Regions from separate parts of the Homo sapiens genome. Here region 2 is linked to region 1. The links are contacts of gene promoters, found by promoter capture Hi-C in human tissues and cell types (Jung and others, 2019). All regions are on one chromosome and are shown on one strand. Each heading gives the region's core, a stretch centred on a gene start or on the middle of the fragment in contact. The rest is flanking DNA. Distances are from core to core; before and after follow the strand shown. Region 1 holds the start of ZC3H6 (zinc finger CCCH-type containing 6). Region 2 holds the start of RGPD8 (RANBP2 like and GRIP domain containing 8).

Region 1 (6,840 bases), core at 1-2,500:
TCATTGCAATTGTTTTTGAATGCATTCCATTTATGTATTAGTAAAATGTATTATTAAGGAAAGACAAATTAAGTCAGATATTTGGATTAATCATTGAGTCTATCATTTTAGTAAAAAGCAAGGAACTTTCCTTCAGGACTAATATATTAAATAGGCCAAAACACTGACTTGTCATTTAAAAATTTTTTAAGGTCACTTCATAAGTATAAAAAACTCATGCATGGTCGGGCGCGGTGGCTCACGGCTGTAACCCCAGCACTTTGGGAGACCCAGGAGGGCGGATCACCTGAAGTCAGGAGTTCGAGACCAGCCTGGCCAAAATGGGGAAACCCCATCTCTACTAAAAATACAAAAATTAGCCAGGCGTGGTGGCGCGTGCCTGCAGTCCCAGCTACTCGGGAGGCTGAGGCAGGAAAATTGCTTGAACCCAGGAGGCAGAGGTTGCAGTGAGCCGAGAGCGCGACACTGCACTCCAGCCTGGGCGACAGAGGAGACTCCATCTCAGAAAAAAAAAAAAAAAAAAAAAAAAAAAAAAAAAAAAAAGGCATGCCTAATAGTATTTATAAAATACTCGCATACATTTTACATGTTAATATTATTACGAAATAAAGTAACGTTTATATAATTATTTCAATAGCTATTCCTATTTAAGTAATAATTGGGTAAATTTAACAGCAAATACAAGAAAAAACTGCATGGCAAGCTATTTTCCTTAAAACATGATTCTGAACACTAAACGTTACAAAAACAGATACTTGCTACAACTGTGAAGGAGAAACTGCATTTCCCTATTATTACAAGAACAAAGGTTTTCACAAAAAAATTTAAGGACTCTACAGCCGCCTTGTTCTTTGTTATCCCACCCCTGCCCGCCTCGGCTAACGGTTTTGGGGCCCGTTTGCTTGGTGCGTCTGGAACTCCTCGGGCGGCGGGCGTCTCGCAGGAAAAACCGCGGCCCGTACTGCGCCGGGAGCAGAAGCGCTGGTGGCCCTCGTAGGTCCCGTGGGCTGCCTCCCCCTCCTGCAGACACTCGAGGAGCCATCCGGCCGCGTCTCTCGCCGCCCGGCCCCGCCACTAGGCTGCCGCCTCCGCCGCTGCACAGAGAAGGGCGAAGACCCGCCCCTGCAGGTGATTGACGGGCACTCTCCTCCAATGGTCAACGCGCTCGGCCCCGGCGGGCTGGGCAAGGGCCGCGGCTCGCGGAGGAATCTCTCTTGCCCTTTAGTCCCGGGCAAGGTGTTGCGGCCGGCGCCATTTTCTCGAGCCGCCTGTTTCGGGTGCCGCCATGTTGGTGAGGAGAAATCACCGTTACGGCCACTGTCCAAATCCCCGCGTCGCTGCACGCCGCCCGCCCGCTCCCACGCCACAGCCACCGGCGGCGAATAGAGACTAGAGCGGCAGCGCCGGCAGCGCGGGGCCGTTGCCCAGTGTTTGCAGTTAGAGCCCCATCTCTCTGGCGTGGTTGTTAATAGACTGGAAAGTCTGTGTCTGTGTCGCTCACTAGTAACCGTGAGTTTTTACCACTTCGTCACCTGTCGGCGGCGGCCGGGAGCAGGTTCCCGCAGGCGGCGCGGGGGGTCTTCCCCGCGCCCCGCCGCCGCCGGCCTCGCAGACCTGCCCTCCAGCCCCGCCCCGTTCTTGACCAAACATGACAGACTCTGAACATGCAGGGCACGACAGGTCGGGAACCCTTCTTGTCTGTCTTTCTGTCGGATGAGAGGAGGGGTCTGGGGCGGCGGGAGCGGGCCGGGGCCGGGCGCCTCCTGCATGACCTAGACGTCTCTGTGTGGCTCCGTCAGTTCCATGACGCGCACTCTTATGTAAACTGCTGGATCGCGGCCGCGGGGGAGGTCGGCCCGGCCGCGCCCGCCTCCCCGAGCCGGGGTCGCTGCTCGCCAGCGCCGGCCCCGCCCCCGGCCGGGCACGTGCGAGCCCCCCGCCCCCCGGGCGGGCTCCGTGTGCGCCGGGCGGCTCTCAGCGTCCCGGCTCGGTGCTGAGGTCCTGCTTCTGCCCGTCCAGGTGTCGGTGCTCCCGGCCAGATAGGACCAGCCAGGAATTTTCAGGAATGGGTGTTTTGATATTTGACTGCTTCCCGAGAACCGAGAACACCTCTAAAAAAATAAACATTTGGTTTTCAGGGAAGTTTTAAGCAGCACCAAAAGGCCATCTGTTGTATACAGTCTTATCCCTTGGAATTTGAGATGGCAAGTTTCAAGTTTAATATGTTAACACAAAATACTTAGGCTTTGCAGAAACTTAGTTTAGCACAGTTTTACCCTAACGTAAAAACTCCATGGATTATTCCGGCTAGCCCAATTTTCTAGATGGTGTGTATCACTTGAATATTGAGATTCTGATTTTTTATTTTTTGCTCTGTGCCTTAAGAGGCACATTCTTGTTTCCATTCGAGTTTGGGGACATTTACAAAGTATACTGTAGCATACTTAAATTTTGGTTATAATTCAAATTTTCATTCGTATATATCTTTAATAATGCGAAAGGGGGGCTTTCATTCATTAAACTTACTGAAACAAAATCCATTGCATCTGATTCTTACTTAGAATATTAATTTGAAAATCTAGAACCTCACAATTACTCCTTTGTGAATAGAAGTAAGAAAAAATATACGTTTTACTATAGACTATATACATTGCTGAAGTTTTATCTGTAGTAATGTGATCGGCTTGGTAAAGCATCCTAAACACGTTTTTTAAAACCCAGAAGCAAAAATCACAAACACTGCTGAAATTTGAAATATCTAAATACCTAGCAATCTTGAGAGGGATAAAAATGGTATTTCAACAACTTCAGTATTGTAATAATAAAAGTAGATTCCCAGAGGGCACGTCAATCAAAGTGTAAAAATTTTTGGAAAGTAAAATGCACTTTTAAAAATGATAAGCTTGCACTTGGCACATTTTTAATGATTTTTTTAACGTTATCTTTTGTATTAAAAAGGAAATTCTTAGAATGGGTTGACTAATACCTTGCTCTTGAGGTATGGACAAACCAATGATGGGGTTTTGCTAATGGAGCCTAAAATCCTTTTTTTTTTTAATATGGAAGAATATCTGTTCCCCTCTCTTAGTGCACAAAGTAACTTCTATATATGGAGTTATGTATTGTACATCATGAAAAAACAATGCCATCAAATTCAAGTATCAAAATAATTTTGCTGGTAAGGAACTGTGATGACAGACCTTTTAAAGAATTTGAAATTTTAAAATACTGGTTTAGAGGTTAGAAAACTTTAAAGAATTATTTGTAAGATATGTTAATAGGTTGGTAGTAGGAGCTAAAGATTAAGATTAGTCTATTTTATTTAAAATTCGGACTAAAAGTATTTTCTAGTGATTTCTGAAACAAAAAGGTTAGCTCCACTTTAACTTAGCCAATTGTTAAGTGGCATCATTGTGCTGAGATGAAGGAGATGGTTTTTTTTTTTCATGCTTTTTTTGTCAACCCACATGAAAAACAAAACAACTACATCAAAAACAAAGTGAACTAGAAGTCAGGAGAAATTCTACAAGATCAGATCAATGGTTCTAAACCTTCCCTGGGGAACTTTTTTTCTTTAAAGTATTGGCGCTATTTCTGTTGGTCTGGACCTCAGCCTGGGTTTTAAGAGTTCTAAAAGCTCCCCAGGAAATTCTAATATGTGCCAAATTGAGAACCGCTATACTCGATCAGTGTTTCCCAATGATAGTTAATCATCAGAATCACTTTGGGGAATAAATTTTTGTTCTGCCCAGAGCAACTGAATCAGAATCTCTAGGGTATTTTTCATAGGCTCCCTGGGAAATTCTTAAGAAATTTGGGGAAAAAATGGACTAATCTGCGGGCTTCCAAAATACTGTATCTTTCCATATAATAGCTATTTTATGCTGTTATAAAAGTTTCTGTGAATTAAGTGGAGAAAAATATATGAAACTTGGTATATGGAGCTAGGCTTTGTCTCAAGGATTTTATTTTATTTATTTTATTTTTTTGAGACGGAGTCTCGCTCTGTCGCCCAGGCTGGAGTGCAGTGGCACTGTCTCAGCTCACTGCAAGCTCCACTTCCCGCCTTCACACCATTCTCCTGCCTCAGCCTCCTGAGTAGCTGGGATTACAGGCACCCGCCACCACACCTGGCTAATTTTTTGTATTTTTAGTAGAGACCACGTTTCATCATGTTGGACAGGCTGGTCTTGAACTCCTGACCTCAAGTGATCCACCAGCCTTGGCCTCCCAAAGTTTTGGGATTACAGGGGTGAGCCACTGTGCCCAGCCAAGGATATTCTTTTTATAACATTTTCAAAAATTAAGGCATATTGTGTATGCAGGAAAAAAAATGAAGCCTATGATTTATATTTACAATTGCTTTGATTTTATACAAATTAAAATATTACTGTTTATGAGAATGAGATTCTAAATGTAAATGGAATTCACAGAATGCATAATTTTTTTCTCGTTTAAAGAAATAGAGTCTCGCTATATGCCTAGGCTGGTCTTGAACTCCTGGGCTCCAGCCATCCTCCCATTTCAGCCTCCCAGAGTGTTGGGATTACAGGCGTGAGCCACCACGCCTGGCCTTGTACATGTTATATAGTGAACATTTTGCACAAGATTGTTTGCCAAATGAATAATTTAAAAAAAATCCATTTAGTGTACTTTCCTTTAAATATTTTCACACCTGGAGTTAAAACATTGTATTTTATAAGATGTTATTAATATAAAAATACTTCTAATTCTACTTGTGGCTATGTAGAATGTAGTAGAGGACTTTTGCATAAGCCCAGAGCCTAGTTTCTAAAGGTCTTTAGGGATTTAGGGAAATCAGAGGGAGGTATAATTCTGGTCTCTCGTCGTTCAGTTCTTTTTCATTCAGTTCTCTCAGGCACGACTCCAGCCGCTCAGTTTTATATTTCAACTGGATGTTGACCCAATTAAAACAATTCACAACTCCTGAAGACGAAATACTATGAGTCCCTGCTTTGGACACATCTGTAGTAGAGTAGGAAAAGATAAATATAACCCAAGTAATTGTTACAGAATTTTCTGAAATATACTAATGGTAAAAGGTTTTGTAGGGCTTGTACTGGGGAAAAAGATAATTTTTTAGCATGAACCTTTTAAGAGCTTGTGAGTCTCAAAGAGTCTTTAACTGATAGGTGATATGGATAATACTCCCCTTTGGGAGGAGGTTTATAATACATAAACAACCTCCCCACCCTTCCCTCGCAGCTTTCTGTCCTGTACTACAAGAACAACAAAACTCCAACTAGTCAGAATTGCAAGTGGTTTATGGCCCCCCATATAGATTGAAAACTTGCTAAGAGACTGCACTGGAGAACCTGAAAGGATGAGGATGGAAAAGATGATTATACTTTTCATTTGCAACAGGGCTTTCATTTGATTCTCACATTAATCCCATGTGGTAGTTAATTAAGGTAGCATTACAAGGTTCAGTGAATTGTCTGAGATCTCATAAATACAACCTAGATAAGAACCCAGGTATTATTATTTTCAGTCTTGCAATATTATTTTCCTACTTGCAATATTATCTTCACTCTTCATTAAGTTTGCACAGCAAAGTAATGGAATAAGTTCTGGGCTTTAATCCTTGAGTAGTTTGGAATTGTAATGTGCTACATTTGAGAGAGAGCCCTTCATTTTGAATAAAACCTTGGTACTGATCCTGATCTTCTAACTTGGGTTAATGCTCTTCCCCTTTTCATTATTTTTTTCATTTGTGAAATGAAGTAGTTGCACTAGATCATTTTCAATTTTCCTTCCCACTTAAATCAATTTTAATTAAAAAAATTGCAGATGCCTTTTCTCAGATTAGAGTACACTTTTTGCTCCACACAATATCTGGTTTGTAAATTAGTATGTTCCGTGGAGTAAATAACTTTCCTGACTAGCCATTAACTTACTTCTGATTCCTGAATCCACTAATTTAACTATTGTTGAAATTACTAAAGGAAATTTTTCTTTAGCAAATGTAAAACCTCGTATCAGGTCTCAGGTTTGATGTTGTAAAGCACTCTGACTCTCAGGAAGACTCTTTTTTTCCCCCAACCTCTCATAAACAAATATTTCATTCATTATAAAATTTCATTCATTACATTTTCATTCCTCAGACTTAACAGTGTTTCGTCTCTGCTAAGTATAGTGTTAAGCACTGACAAAAGAACTCTGGACACAACATCATGAACTTGCTCTCTGGGATCTTATAATCTAGTTGCAGAAACAGATTGGTAAATACATAGTATAGCACAAGTACTATAATGGAGGCCTGAACTGAGTGCTGTGGGGGTACACAGATGAAGGCTTCTGGGAGACATCATGGCATAACTAGACCTGGAGGATGAATAAAACTTTGGCCAAGTAAATACAGAGATACACGAAAAGCATGGATAAATGGCACAAGTAGGTTCAGGGATGATAAAAGTGTTAGTATGTGGAGAGTGTACAACTATTTTGGGGAATGGGGAAACGGATTAAATTTGGGGCCAGACCCTGAAGGATGTGGGGATCCCATCAAAGTCTTTTAAGCAGGAGAATGATCAGATGCATTTTTTGGTATACTACCTGGGGGATAGGAGGAAATGGACTACAGAAGGGGAGATCAGTAGAAGGAAGACAAGTTAGGAAGCTTTTCAGTCATTTTCATTAAACATGAAGCTTAATATGTATTGTTCTAGGATCAGGAATACAGCAATAAAGAAAAAACTTGGTGTAATGAAACATATTTTCTTGGGAGAGACAGAAAATAAACATGAAAAACAGATGTGTTCAATGGTGATAAAGCAGAAAGGGAGATGGGGAGTCAAGTGGATGTGGGGAGGGTGTTTA
Region 2 (6,688 bases), core at 729-3,228, 160 kb after region 1:
AACTCCGTCTCTACTAAAAATGCTAAAAAATTAGCCGAGTGTTGTGGCGGGTGCCTGTAGTCCCAGCTACAGGCTGGGGCAGGAGAATGGCGTGAACCCCGGAGGCAGAGTTTGCAGTGAGCCGAGATCGCGACACTGCACTCCAGCCTGGACGATAGAGCCAGACTCCGTCTCAAAAAAAAAAAAAAAAAAAAAAGAAAAGAAAAGAAAATGTCTAAAATGGGAGAAAGGGAATTAAAAATAACAAAAGTATATATGTGTGTTACTCAGAAGTATGAAGTATAGATGTAAAGGGCAGAAAAAACAACTAACAGCTGTCAAAGGTGCCTGCCTGTAGTCCTAAGTACTCAGGAAACAGAGGTAGGAGGATCATTTACGCCCAAAAATTTGATGAGCAACACAGCAAGACCCTATTCTAAAAAACAAATAAATAAAAATAAGAGCTGTCAAGTAGACTTTGAGAAGTAGGAATCAGCTGCAGAATAAGAAATCGACTTGACAGAACATAGAAAAACTAAACAGAAGCCATCGGGAAAAAGAAAAACTAGAGAAAGAATTATATTTTTTTCCTTTTTTCTTTTTTGGAGACAGAGTCTCGCTCTGTCACACAGGCTGGAGTGCAGTGGCGCAATCTCTGCTCACCACAACCTCTGCCTCCAGGGTTCAAGCAATTCTCCTGTCTCAGCCTACCGAGTAGGTGGGACTACAGGCGCTGCCACCACGCCCGGCTCATTTTTGTATTTTTAATAGAGACAGATTTTCACCATATTGGTCAGGCTGGTCTCTCGGCCTCCCAAAGTGCTCGGATTACAGACGAAGAATATTTTTAAGAAGGGCAAAAGCACATGTGAGGGAGTAGAAAAATGGCAAAACAAGAGAAGACTAACAAATGAAAGCACAATGGAAGACTAGAAAGATATGATATACAGACGCATCATCACACACCAAAACTCCGACATTCTAGAAGGCATGGGCAGTTCACAGATGGCCAGCCTCTGCCAAACTGGGGGAGAATACTAACCTCTTCATATTCTTCACAGCCACTGCCTCTTCTCCCTCCATTCTTTACCTTCTATCCAAAGCACCCTGTTTTGTCATTTCACTCAAACCTAACTTTACAGAATAGCTTCACATGTTCCAGTTACTCACTAGTTAATCCATATTCCGCTGAAATCCCCAGGTTCTAATGTAAATGACTTTAAATTTGGGGGGGAAAAAAAGACTCTAAGTGTAAGAGAGGTGGTCATAATAACCAATCGTCAAAATGTTGCTACCACTCCACTTTATTTAATGGAGAAGTTATGTAGTTGAAAGAACATTCTGACTTCTGTCTAGACCAGTGGTTTTTAATCTTTTGGAAGCCAAGGTCCCCACTAAGAATCTCAGAAAGGCTCTAAGGTTGCTTTTTTTTTTTTTTAAGCTTGTTTAAAAAAAAAATCAGGCTGAGCAGAGTGGCTCACACCTGTAATCTCAGCACTTGGGGCCAAGGCGGGAGGATCACTTGAGCCCAGGAGTTGGAGACCAGCCTGGGTAACATGGTAAGACCCCGTCTCTACATTAAAGAAAAAAGCCGGGCATGGTGGCGCATGCCTGTAGTCTCAGCTACCCAGGAGGCTAAGGTGGGAGGACGGATTGAGCCCAGGACGTCAACGCTGCAGTGAGCCACGATCCCGCCACAGCACTCCAGCCTGGGAGACAGAAAGAGACCTTGTCTCAAAAACAAAATAATGGCCGGTGCAGTGGCTCACGCCTATAATCCCAACACTTTGGGAAGTGGAGGCGGGGAAATCACTTGAGCCCAGGAGTTCAAGAACAGCCTGGGCAACATGGTGAAACCCAGTCTCTACCAAAAATACAAAACAAAACAAAACAGCGGGTGTGGTGGGTACACCTGTGGTCCCAACTACTCGGGAGACTGAGGTGGGAGGATCGCTTGAGCTGGGGAGGCGGAAGCTGCAGTGAGTCGAGATAGTGCCACTGCATCCAGCTGGGTGACAGAGTGAGACCCCACCTCAAAAAAAATAAAATAACACAAAAATTAAAGTCTTTAATTTCAGGAGTTACAGGAACCCTCAATTAAGGTCTGTTTTAGACTCTTACCATCACATTCATATTTATACTATGCTAGCAGTTTGAAATTACAACGTACAAGTAGATATCTATCCTTCTCTGGAGGAATAGACTGTAACTTACTGCACTGTTCCCAAGAGAAACTAAATCAGACCCACTGCCAAAATTCTGCTGCACTACCCATTTGACCCTGAACAAGTATCTTAAATCTCTACAGGTCTCAATATCCACAGGGTTGCTGGAAGCGCAAAATAAGATAACCTATGCTTAGTTATGATAAGAGACACAATTATGCTACTATTATAATCATGGTCATCCGTGAGTTTCTGGTTTTTTTTTTTTTTTTCTGGAGTCTCCCTCTGTCGCCCAGGCTGGAGTGCAGTAGCGCGATCTCGGCTCACTAGAACCTCCGCCTCCCGGGTTCAAGCGACTCTCCTGCCTCAGCCTCCCAGGTAGCTGGGACTACAGGCGTGCGCCACCACGTCCGGCTAACTTTATTTGTATTTTTAGTAGAGACAAGGTTTCAACATGTTAGCCAGGCTGGTCTCGAACTCCTGACCTCAGGCAATCCGCCCTCCTCGGCCTCCCAAAGTGGTGGGATTACAGGCGTGAGCCACTGCGCCCGGCCAATATCCTTTTAACATCAACAATAAAAAGTGACTTGTAGCTAACATTTAGTGCTATGTGTCAAGCAATAACCTAAATGTTTAAAATGGATCATCCTATCAAATTCTATCAATGTTACAACTCCATCTATGGATGAAAAGTGTAAGTGGCCCCAAATACCCAGCTTATAAACGACAGTGCTGTGATTATTCAAGCCAAAGCAAACTGACTCAAGATTCTGCGCACATCCACCTTTAATAGCTTCTTCCGTCACTCTTTAGATCCAATGACTAAAGTCTTATTGAATCCAAAATAGATCACATTATTTACCTGTAAAGAGGAAAAATACCCTAAAAACACTTGTGGAAAAGGTTAAAAATTGTAAGCCATACTAACGATTTGTAAGAACTTTAGAATTTTTTTTTTTTAAGCAAAGGCAGCTACCAAAGTGTTCCGGGCGGGGAGGGGGGCGAGGGAGGTGAGTATGAGGAGTGGAGTGGAGCTGGACCCTTACAAAGGGACAGCGACAAACACCTCATACTCAAAACAAGGGGACTTTCCGTGTCATTTGTGCCATCGGGCCATTGCAAATGTCCACGCTGAGATGCCTACCTTGTCACTCGACGCAGCCGCCAAAGCTCACCCGGAGCTGCGTCAGTCCCCACTGGGTTCCTCCAGGCCAAGGAGGTACGACCTCCGCCGCGGCATATAAAGTAAATGTCCAGGACATGGGAAGAAACCCGCCGATACAGCACCCGGGTGCCCAAGCCCCCGAGAACTAGGCCGCGCGGGTACTACGGGGCCAGAAAGCCCGGGCCAGGGCGAGCCCACGAGCGAGCACCGTCGGGAACAAACCGGGAGAAAGAGGAAGAGCCGGCGCCAAAGGTCTCCCGCCCGCCGCGGTCCCCCCAGGACTCTTCCTGCGCTTGCAAGCGCCACGCCGCCCACAGGACTGCGCTAGCCGGCCTCCGCCTCAACAGAGCGCGCCAGGGAGCAGCGCCCTCGGGAGCCATGACCCCTGACCCATCGAGGCCGCCGCCGGGCCGGGTCGAGGCCGCCGCCTCAACAGAGCGCGCCAGGGAGCAGCGCCCTCGGGAGCCATGACCCCTGACCCATCGAGGCCGCCCCCGGGCCGGGTCGAGGCCGCCGCCTCAACAGAGCGCGCCAGGGAGCAGCGCCCTCGGGAGCCATGACCCCTGACCCATCGAGGCCGCCGCCGGGCCGGGTCGAGGCCGCCGCCTCAACAGAGCGCGCCAGGGAGCAGCGCCCGTCGGGAGCCATGACCCCTGACCCATCGAGGCCGCCGCCGGGCCGGGTGGAGGCCGCCGCCTCAACAGAGCGCGCCAGGGAGCAGCGCCCGTCGGGAGCCATGACCCCTGACCCATCGAGGCCGCCGCCGGGCCGGGTCGAGGCCGCCGCCGCCCGGCCGGGTCGAGGCCGCCGCTCTCTTCCAGACCCACTCACCTGTCGAGGCGACGGGGTGAGACCCAGCACCGAGGCGACGTACCGCTCCACATCGGCCTTGCTGCGCCTCATCGCGCCGCCAACCTGGCTCCCGAGACGCGTGCGAGCACCGCTCAGCCCCGCAGCAGTCGCCACTTCCAAGAGGAAAGTGCCTGCAAGCCACTGAAGCAGCGGCGTAGCCGGCGGAGGCCCACTGTGACGAGCGTGCGGCGCCGCCCACGGAGGCCCACTGTGACGAACCTGCGTTCTGCCTCAGCACTGTGTATCCTCGGGGACGTCGGCGCTCCAGCTGCACTCGGCCGGGCTGGTGGCGCCGCCCTGTGGTCTGAGGGTGTCTTGACATGATCTTATCTATAGAAAACCTTAATGAAAGCTCAAAAAAAAAAAAAAAAAGACAAACCATCAGTGATAATAAATGAGTTCAAAGAGATTGTACCATACGAGGTCAACTAAAAAAAATGAGATGTCTACTTATACACCAGCAAGGAACAATTCAAGTAAAATTAAGTAAACAATTCCATTTATAATATTATCAAAAATAATAAAATAATTATGAATAAATTTAACCCAAAAGTGTAAGACTTGTAGACTGGAAACTACAGAACACTGTTGAAAGAAAAGCAAGTGATTCATCCCCCGGTGCCAAACAGCAGACGCAGGTGTTACCAGTCTGGTGGGGCGCCCGAGCTGGGGACCTGGGGTCCTCTGGGAGGGGCAAGAAGGCAGCGATGCTGGCCCCCGCCTCCATCTGCCCATCCCATCTGCATCCACACACCGCCCTGCGGTAGCTGCTTGCAGCCCTTCTCTGTCAGTTTCTCCATTATCTTCTGGTTTGGTGATAAATGAGAGTTCCCATCGGGGGTGCCACCCTCTGTGTGACGGGGAGCAGAGAAGACCCTGCATCTGAGTCCTTCTGGGGGAAGAGCGAAAATGCTGGGACCAGCCCCAGCTGTCAGGGGGTCTCCAATCCCAGCAGGGAGGCCCCACGCATGGCTAGGATGCCCCAGACCCCAGGGACTGCACGAAGTGGAAAGGAGGGCCCCCGGTCCTAACTAAGGGTTCAGACCCCCGCAACACACATCCAGGCACACCCCCACCCCCTAGGCCTGGTTCTAGGTCTGCCAGCTCCGAGAAGGCCCCTAACAATGGTGCAGTCGCAGGGGCTGTGTCCCAGGCCGGGCTCACGCCCAGTCCCGCTGCCCCGGGGGTAGATGGGGCCCCTGGCCCGCGCGCTGTGGAGCCCTGGAGTGTCTGTGCGCCCCTTCCTTGGAGGGCAGCCGCTGAGGGGCTGCTGCGGGACTGGGGAGCCTCCTGGCAGCAAGCGCTCCCAATGCGTAGCGGGACGCTGTGATGGGGACAAGATCCTGGCTTTGAAGAAAGCCCTTTCCACCCTGTCCATGTGGGGGTCTCCCGGTGCCCCTGAGCCAGCGGCCCCCTCCTGCAGGCTCCGGAGGACTCCCCTGCCTGCATCTGGTCTCGCATTTCCTCCGTGACCTCCAAGCTCCCACTGGGGGCACACGGCTGCCCTGCTGACCCCAACTCTGGCCCTGTGCCGGTGGTGGGCAGCATCTGGCACGGGGGAGGCGCCGTTTCTTCCACACTCGCGCGTCCTCAGCCCAGATCATCCGGTGAAGTTTCCCCAGCAAGTGGCTCCCCCTGCCCCCTCCACCCTGCCAAGTGTGGTCCCTGGGCCCCCGCCTTCCCTTCTCGGCCTCTGCCCCTGGGTCTGGGGCCTGCATCCAGCCATCCACGCTCAGGGAGGCCACCTCCTCCCTCGCTCTCGACCACCACAAAGCTGCCCGGGACCTTGTTCTATCCTTTCCAAAAGTCCTCAGGACCTGCCTGTCTACGGAGCTCCCAAAACGCCCTGTGAGCTCTCCCGGGCCCCTCCTCTCCTTGCTAATAATGTCCCACACGGTGCTGCCTGCCTGGCCCCAAAAGAAAAGGACCCTGGAGTGAGTTCTGAACACAAACTCGATGAAAGTGGCCCCCTGCTCCACCTGCCGAGTCGGCCCCTCCTCAGACTCTCCCCTTGGGCAGGGAAACCTGCCGGGGCCTGACTGTTTCTTCCTGAAACAGCCTCAGGCTGGAAGGAGAGGGATCCACCCTTGGCCATTGAAGCATTCAGCAGGAATCAGCCCTCGGGGACCAAGACCCTGTGACCAGCCCCGCCCCACAGGCGCCGGTCCTGGGCAGCCTCCCTTGCTCAGGCCACGCTGCTCCCAAGAAGCCAGGATGAGCAGCTCGCAATAGGCCCCCCAACACGCAGAGTGCCACGCGGAGGACGGGGGCACCCCAGAAAACTGCAGACACTGCATGTCCTCTGGGAGCCCCGGCCCTGGGAGACGATGTGCAGTGGCTCCAGCTCTGACCTCATGAGCCCAAGCTCCGCTACACACTGGGTCCTGACCTGACCTGGGTCCCTGGGGCTCTCCGGCCAGGCCTCTCCCGGTGCCTCCCGCCCCTGAGGCCGCCACCCAGCATCCAGGCCCCTGTGTAGTCATCCCCTCTTCAGGAATCTGGGTCATGGCTGCAGGATAGGGGCTAC

The links. Contacts are between HindIII fragments. The study calls those that stand out against the background at their distance.
Region 2: a fragment that was not itself captured here is called in contact with the fragment with the promoter of ZC3H6 in region 1 in 1 of the 25 tissues and cell types used here (dorsolateral prefrontal cortex).

What each region holds. Positions count from the first base shown.
Region 1 is chr2:112,274,347-112,281,186 of GRCh38, forward strand. It overlaps ZC3H6 (zinc finger CCCH-type containing 6), which reads left to right and starts at 1,251. Exons shown (of 12, transcript NM_198581.3): 1 at 1,251-1,680. The coding sequence starts at 1,649. RefSeq lists enhancers at 953-1,525, 1,141-1,350 and a silencer at 1,541-2,020. The HindIII fragment of the contact is 17,114 bases long and covers 1-4,771 here.
Region 2 is chr2:112,429,242-112,435,929 of GRCh38, forward strand. RGPD8 (RANBP2 like and GRIP domain containing 8) reads right to left here and starts at 4,404. Exons shown (of 23, transcript NM_001164463.1): 1 at 4,141-4,404. The coding sequence starts at 4,212. RefSeq lists an enhancer at 4,992-5,970. The HindIII fragment of the contact is 7,995 bases long and covers 1-5,976 here.